Regions from separate parts of the Homo sapiens genome. Here region 1 is linked to region 2. The links are contacts of gene promoters, found by promoter capture Hi-C in human tissues and cell types (Jung and others, 2019). All regions are on one chromosome and are shown on one strand. Each heading gives the region's core, a stretch centred on a gene start or on the middle of the fragment in contact. The rest is flanking DNA. Distances are from core to core; before and after follow the strand shown.

Region 1 (3,785 bases), core at 806-3,305, 170 kb after region 2:
TCTCCTGGCTTCATGTAGTCAGCCATCTTGGAGAGTCCTCCACTCTGGAAGTTTTTACCTTGATGCTCTAAATCAAATCACAATGTTAAGATGTAATATTGTTTTTTTTTTTTTTACTAAAAAAATGCATTTTATGTCATGGCCTAGAATGTGTGTAGCATGTTTTTATACAAACCACAAGTATTTAAATATGCATTATTCATACTGTTTGTGAGTATTCAAGAGGAAGGAAGGAAAGGAGAGAAAGATGAGACAAACATTGACTATAGAGAGACTGTGTGTATGATAAAGTTTCAAGAAACAATACATATCTATGTGCTCTGTGATCTGCATTTCCTTAAAATACAAAACAAAACAAGTAAATGCCACAGGTGATAACCCCCAACATTGATTTCAAAACCATGCAGACCTTCCCATTATCTTTATATGTTCCTAATTCTAGGTCTGCACACGGAGTCTTTGTTACTGAGAAAGGAACACTAAAATCCTAAGGCTTAAAAAAAATAAAGTTGTATTGTTTATAATTGGTATCTTGAGAACGCGTGTCCTCTCTTTCCTCTCCTTTCCTTTCCTTCATCTTTATTAACCATCAGTGCAATGGAGACTGTGAGGGAGATTATTTTTTTTTTTTAGCACCATAAACTCAACCAAGTGGTATGTGTTTTTTTAAAAGAATGTTGGTTTTTGCTGATAATTTCCAGATCACAAATATTTAGAAGACTAGCATATGTATTTAGTACTTTGGGAAACTTTATTTATTTTGATTTTAATTTCATTTTTTGAGATGGAGTTTTGCTCTTGTTGCCCAGGCTAGAGTGCAGTGGTGTAATCTTGACTCACTGCAACTTCCTTCCGCCCCCTGGGTTCAAGCGATTCTCCTGCCTCAGCCTCCCAAGTAGCTAGGATTACAGGCATGCACCACCACACCCGGCTAATTTTGTGTTTTTAGTAGAGACGGGTTTCACCATGTTTATCAGCTGGTCTTCAACTCCTGACCTCAGGTGATCTGCTGACCTCGGCCTCCCAAAGTGCTGGGATTACAGGTGTGAGCCATGGTGCCTGGCCCATCCTTTGGGAAACTTTAAATTGATCAGTCTGTTTCTCTGTGTAAATCTAAGTTGTACTGATGTTTACATGGCATGTTTTTTAATCATGGGGATAATTTGTTCTAAGGAATTTTCACTTTTTCCAACTAACTTAGGACATTAGTATAATAAGGCTACATTTCCTGGGTAATGTGTCCTGAGAAGGAATTACTTTGATTTTCATTTGAAAATACAGTGGGTATATTACTTTTGCTATGTGATAGGCAGTAGTTCAATCTAATAATAACCAATTAAGCTTACGATTCAGAAAGAAAATATTCCTACACAATATTTTTTCATTAATGACACTTATAAAATCAGATGCTATTGAGTATGAAGAAATAAAGCCAATTAGTGTTATCTGATAATGTCAAGAATGTGTTCCACATGAGAGGATTTTTTAGAAAAAGAAAATTAGGAAAATTAATAGAACTAATAATTTCATTATAAATTCTAAAAATTACTTTAAAGATAATTTAACATATACATGTGTATGTATGTAGATAGATGAGAGAGAAAAATATTTCAGATAGTCAGAAAAGTGTAGAAACTTTTTTTTTTTTTTGAGACAGAGTGTCACTCCGTCACCCAGGCTAGAGTGCAGTGGCACGATCTCGGCTCACTGCAATCTCCGCCTCCCAGGTTCAAGTGATTCTCCTGCCTCAGCCTCCTGAGTAGATGGGACTACAGGCGCGTGCCACCACGCCTGGCTAATTTTTTGTATTTTTAGTAGAGACAGGGTTTCACCATGTTATCCAGGATGGTCTCGATCTCCTGACCTCGTGATCCACCCGCCTTGGCCTCCCAAAGTGCTAGGATTACAGGCCTGAGCCACCGCGTCCAGCCAGTGCAGAAACTTTTGATGAACACCTGTGTGGCCACCCCATTGAACCCTGACATTTTTTCCCTGACTTTTCTAAGTGTATGGAATAACAATCAGTCATTTAAAGGTGATTTGAAAACCAATTATTGTGCTTTGCTCTGGCCAGCTTATTTTTACTCAATTCTTTTAGACCTAAGCATGGCACATTCTTTGGATTCACCCCTTAATGCCCTTAATAATCCCCTAATGCCACAGGTTTACTCTTAATGTATAGCAGTGAATCTTTCTTCATTTGTCCTCTTGTCTGAAGCAAGAATGGAGCAAAGTTTTTTTTTTTTTAATGATTTTTTTTTTTTTTTTTTTTTAAAGAGACAAGGTCTAGGTACATCGTCCAAGCTGGACTCTAACTCGTGGGCTCAAAGAATCCTCCTGCCTCAGCCTCCCAAGTAACTGGGATTCTTGTTGCGGGTCACCATGCCTGGCTTTAAGCAAATTTTTACATAAACAGCCTGGATTTACATGTTATTCCTATGGCACAAATATGGGATTTGTCGTTAATAACTGTATTCCAGTTTACTGCAGATTATAATAGTGAACAAGACAAACTGGGATTTGGAATCCTGAGGCTATCTCTGATTTAGACAAGTTAGTAACCACCGTGTGCTTTAACCTTTTTGATTGGGAAATTCTGAGAATTAACTAATGTAAATATGGGGCACATAGAAGTTGCTCAATAAAAGTTTTTAATATTACTAGCTTTCTTTCAAGTGGTTGAACTTGCTAAAATTCTGATTTCTAAATGAGTGGGAGCATTTCGGTACAAAAATATTCAAGGGTTCTCTCCAACTTTCCAAACAAAGCAGATTTGAACATTAAATTTCATCATCCAACTTTTGGAACCCCTGCTAATTGTTTTCTTTGTACTCTTGGTTTATTTTTATACCTAAGGTCTGATAGACACATAACAAATGCTTTATGTACCTTAAAGTAAGTGAAAATAGATTGTTCAGATGAAAGGTATGTGGATAAGTCAGTTTTGCAGCAATTCTAGAGAACTCTTGCCAGAACTGTATCTTTGTTTTGGTTTTCAGGGACTGTTAAATGTGATCACTGAGTCAGACTTGCTGTTTTCTCTGTCCCCTGGCTATCTCTCTTAAGACCCTGAAGTTTGCCAGCCATAGAATGTTTAAAAGGCAGAGGAGGGCTTAGCCTAGGGGGAGTTTGTTTATTTAAAGAAAAAATAATTAAGTTTAAACATCCTACCATGTCATAGCTAGTTTAGTCATGTTAAGAGTTAGTGAGTTCTTTTGATTGTTTCCTGGTGGTCTTGATATCTAAAGGTAACAGATAAATTTGAAGCAGTTAAACTTCCTGAGATTACCTGGAACCTTATAATATAATCCCAAACAGAAATCCCTAACAAAGTGGGAGGAAAGGGAATGCCATTTTTTTGCTGGTTTTTGTTTTTTGATGGGACTCTTTTAATTCAAATCTTCTACCACTCTGTTCTAGAGTTATGGTACAGATGATTTAAAAACAAAACAACAGTTTAAGAAAACCACACTTTGATAGATACATCTTCATTATTTCTTTGAAGTCGGGAACTTAAGAATCTTTTAAAAGGAACAGTGTAGCTCTACAGATGTTTAGACACAAAGAAAGATCTAAAAATTGATGATGTTATGTTTGAAGATTACCATCTCCCAAATTTATAATTTACTATTCTTTACAAATTCTTTGCCAGATAAGGAAAACTAAGACAGCTATTTTGGGCTTGCTCAGGACACTAGGGCAGATTTCTTTGATGAGATGACTTACAAAAACAAAGTCCTAAAGGAAGAGGAGAAATAAGCCAGAGAGAGAGATATCTCTTGTTA
Region 2 (3,597 bases), core at 277-2,776:
ACAGTTGTTAAGTGGAATTACTAAAAATTACAATCAGCAGTATTTTCTACTCTTTTAGCTTATTTTTTAAAATATTTATCTCCATGCTTTTCAATATTACACCTATATTGCTTCTTCTTGATTTTTCCATTTTAAGATACTGACTTCCTACTATGGAAGTTAAAGATTAAGCTCTATTTCCTCCTCCTCCATCCCCATCAAGCATAGTACCCTTCTCCAAAGCCCATCCTTCTAAATGTAATTCTTTTTTTGAGGGGGAGGGGGGATCAATACTCAGTTTTTTTTTGTTTTGTTTTTTTTTTTTTTTTGAGACGGAGTCTTGCTCTGTCACCCAGGCTGGAGTGCAGTGGTGCGATCTCGGCTCAAGGCAAGCTCCGCCTCCCGGGTTCACGCCATTCTTCTGCCTCAGCCTCCCAAGCAGCTGGGACTACAGGCGCCCACCACCACGCTCGGCTAATTTTTTTGTATTTTTAGTAGAGACGGGTTTTCACCGTGTTAGCCAGGATGGTCTCGATCTCCTGACCTCGTGATCCGCCCACCTTGGCCTCCCAAAGTGCTGGGATTACAGGCGTGAGCCACCGCGCCCGGCCAATACTCAGTATTTATGTAACAATAAATACAATTACTTTCCTTTCTTGCACAAGATTTTGTTTTCCCTAGAATTAATAGCTGCATAATTCTTACAGCCGCTTAGTTTTCTGTGTACCTGTCATGAGTTAAACTCCAAACTCTCGGTCAAATCTCCTCTTGATTCAACGCCAGCTGGAATTTTGTCAATCCCATCCTTCTGAAGCAGTGTCTCCCAAAGATTTCTGACCGAATCTAATCTAGATGCGTTGCCGTCTATGCCTATACACAGCTATTGTTCCCGGAGCTCTTTCAGTATCATCTTGGGATCTTACTATTTTCTGTGTTTGTTATTTATTGTATTTCCTGCATTTCATAATTTCCTCCTTCTTGGCTTATTCCCTCATTTTGGTGGATCAGATCTACAGGATCTTCCTGGAGGTACTGAGAAAGGTAAGATAGGTACTATTTTTTGTGTGTAGTGATTTAGCACATCTGAAACTCTATTCTATTCACACACTAGATTGGTAGTTGGATGAGTATTGAAGACTAAATCGGAAGTAATTTTCCCTCAGAGTTTTGAAGACAGTGCCGTATGGCTTCCTAGATTCTAACTGAGCAATCTGAAGCCACTCTGATTCTATAGTCTGTATAACCTGGAAGGGTGTGGGATCTCTTTTTCCTCGATGTTCAGAAAATTCACAATGATATGCCTTGACGTGGATGCTTTAATATTTGTGCTGGGTGCTTAGTAGGATCTTTCAGTGTGGAAACTCATCTCCTTAACATCTGGACAACTTTTTGAAGTCATTTATTATTTCCTGCCTTTCATTTTTTTTTTGGTTTGGAACTCCTGCACTGGTCCTGTGATGTGACTGCAGCCGCCAGGCGCGTGCGCAGTGTACACTGCGTGCGCATACGCGAGCCCGTTGCGCCTGCGCGCGGTGCGGCCGTCGCCCCTCTTTTCGCGGCGTTCTCCACCTGCGCGGGCCTGAATGGCCTTCAGGAGCACAGTCGGCCTGAGGAGTTGACGGTTACTCACCGCCGTGAGCCCAAGTAACTCGCCCTCCTTCGGCTAGAAACCCTCCGCCTGGGCCCGCGCGACAGGAGCGCGGTCTCTGAGGGGAGCGGCGACCCCGCCAGCCCCGGTCTCTTTCCCTGGCGGCGGCGGCTTCTTCCGTGGGACAATATGTTCAAGAGAATGGCCGAATTTGGGCCTGACTCCGGCGGGAGAGTAAAGGTCAGTGCCCGGACCGCCCCTCTTCCGGGGTGGCTCTCCCGCCTCGGTTCCTCCCTGCGCGGCGCGGGGAGGGCCCACTGGGTTTCCTTTCGCGCCTTTTCTCCTCGGGTTTGAACCGTGGTTTCAGGTTGGAGAGCGAGTCAGAGCCATTGAGCGAAAAACCGGCGTTCATTGGGCCCCAACTTCCTCGCGTCACTGCCAACTCCCACCCCCGCCAAAAAACAAACAGATAAATGGTGGCTTGGGGAAACCCGGACGTGGCTGCCAAGGAAACGGGCGACTCCGAGGGCTGGGAAAGCTCAGCTTGGTGCACATTCGCTGCCAATCTAGGTTATTGGTGAAGCGGTGACGCCACCCTCCTGGTGTGAGGATAACAATAACTGTAGCAAACAGTCGCTGAGCGCTTACCCGCAGTATTTCCAAGTGCGGTAACTGAGACACCGAGGCATACGAAAGCTAAGAAAATTTGCTGGAGTTCATGGTGTTCACAAAGCCTCAAAGCAAGAGCATAACACTGTGCCTGGCACATGGGGAACATTCAGTAAATGTCAACTTCTTTTGTTTTTGATGAAATTACCATAGACCCTAGCGTAATGTTTGACATTGTAATATTTATTTCCCTCACACAGCCCCTGGCACGTTAATTTTTTTTTTTTTTTGAGACGAAGTGTCTGTCTTGTTGCCCAGGCTGGAGCGCAATGGCACGATCTCGGCTCACTGCAACCTCGGCCTCCCAAAGTGCTGGGATTACAGGCGTGAGCCACCGCGCCCAGCCGTGGTTCATTCTTTTTAAAGAAAAATTTCCTTTCCTTTATAAATAAAAATCAGAAGGGGTACAAATAGTTGTTTTTATCAGGAGCCAGTGGGTCCTGCCTTAAAAATTAACGTGCAGGGCCGGGCAAGGTGGCTCACGCCTGTAATCCCAGCACTTTGGAAGGCCGAGGAGGGTGGATCACCTGAGATCAGAAGTTCAAGACCAGGCTGGTCAACATGGTGAAACCCCGTCTCTACTAAATATACAAAAATTAGCCGGGCGTGGTGGCGGGCACCTGTAATCCCAGCTACTAGAGGGGCTGAGGCAGGAAAATCGCTTGAACCCGAGAGGCGGAAGTTGCAGTGAGCTGAGATCGTGCCACTGCACTCTAGCCTGGGCGACAGAGCAAGACAATGTTTCTTTAAAAAAAAAATAGCAATAATTAGTAGGTTTTAAAATACTTATGTGTGTGTGTGTGTGTGTGTGTGTGTGTTTTGTTTTGTTTTTTTTTGAGACGGAGTTTTGCTCTTGTTGCCCAGGCTGGAGTGCACTAGCGCAATCTCGGCTCTCCGCAACCTCCACCTCCTGGATTCAAGCGATTCTCCTGCCTCCAAGCGATTCTCCTGCCTCAGCCTCCTGAATAGCTGGAATTACAGGCATGCGCCACCATGCCCAGCTAATTTTGTATTTTTAGTAGAGACGGGGGCTTCTCCGTGTTGGTCAGGCTGGTCTCGAACTCCCGACCTCGGGTGATCTGCCCGCCTCGGCCTCCCAAAGTGCTGGGATTACAGGCGTGAGCCACCGTGCCTGGCCGCTTTTCTTCATTTTTATTGTTGTTGGTTACATTCACTCAGCACTTTTCACATGTGGTAAATCTTGCTCATTGTTCTTCAGATACATTTCTGTAACTGAGCCATTGGTTTCAGATTCATGTGCAACATTCAATATTTTCACTTCAATTGAAATTTTTTATCTTTCCAACATAATCTGTCAATACGCACTGCCTTTGCACTTATCAGATATAAGAAATATGTAT

What was found. Contacts are between HindIII fragments. The study calls those that stand out against the background at their distance.
Region 1: a contact is called between a fragment that was not itself captured here and the fragment with the promoter of YEATS4 in region 2, in 1 of the 25 tissues and cell types used here (hippocampus).

Annotation. Positions count from the first base shown.
Region 1 is chr12:69,525,092-69,528,876 of GRCh38, forward strand. The region is part of intron 1 of FRS2 (fibroblast growth factor receptor substrate 2); the gene reads left to right. Among named protein-coding and RNA genes, the nearest start is that of SNORA113, 12 kb to the left of the region's middle. RefSeq lists a silencer at 2,884-3,084. The HindIII fragment of the contact is 4,028 bases long and covers 42-3,785 here.
Region 2 is chr12:69,358,217-69,361,813 of GRCh38, forward strand. YEATS4 (YEATS domain containing 4) reads left to right here and starts at 1,527. Exons shown (of 7, transcript NM_006530.4): 1 at 1,527-1,807. The coding sequence starts at 1,757. RefSeq lists enhancers at 1,271-1,874, 1,432-1,621, 1,875-2,476 and a silencer at 1,902-2,061. The HindIII fragment of the contact is 10,052 bases long and covers 1-3,597 here.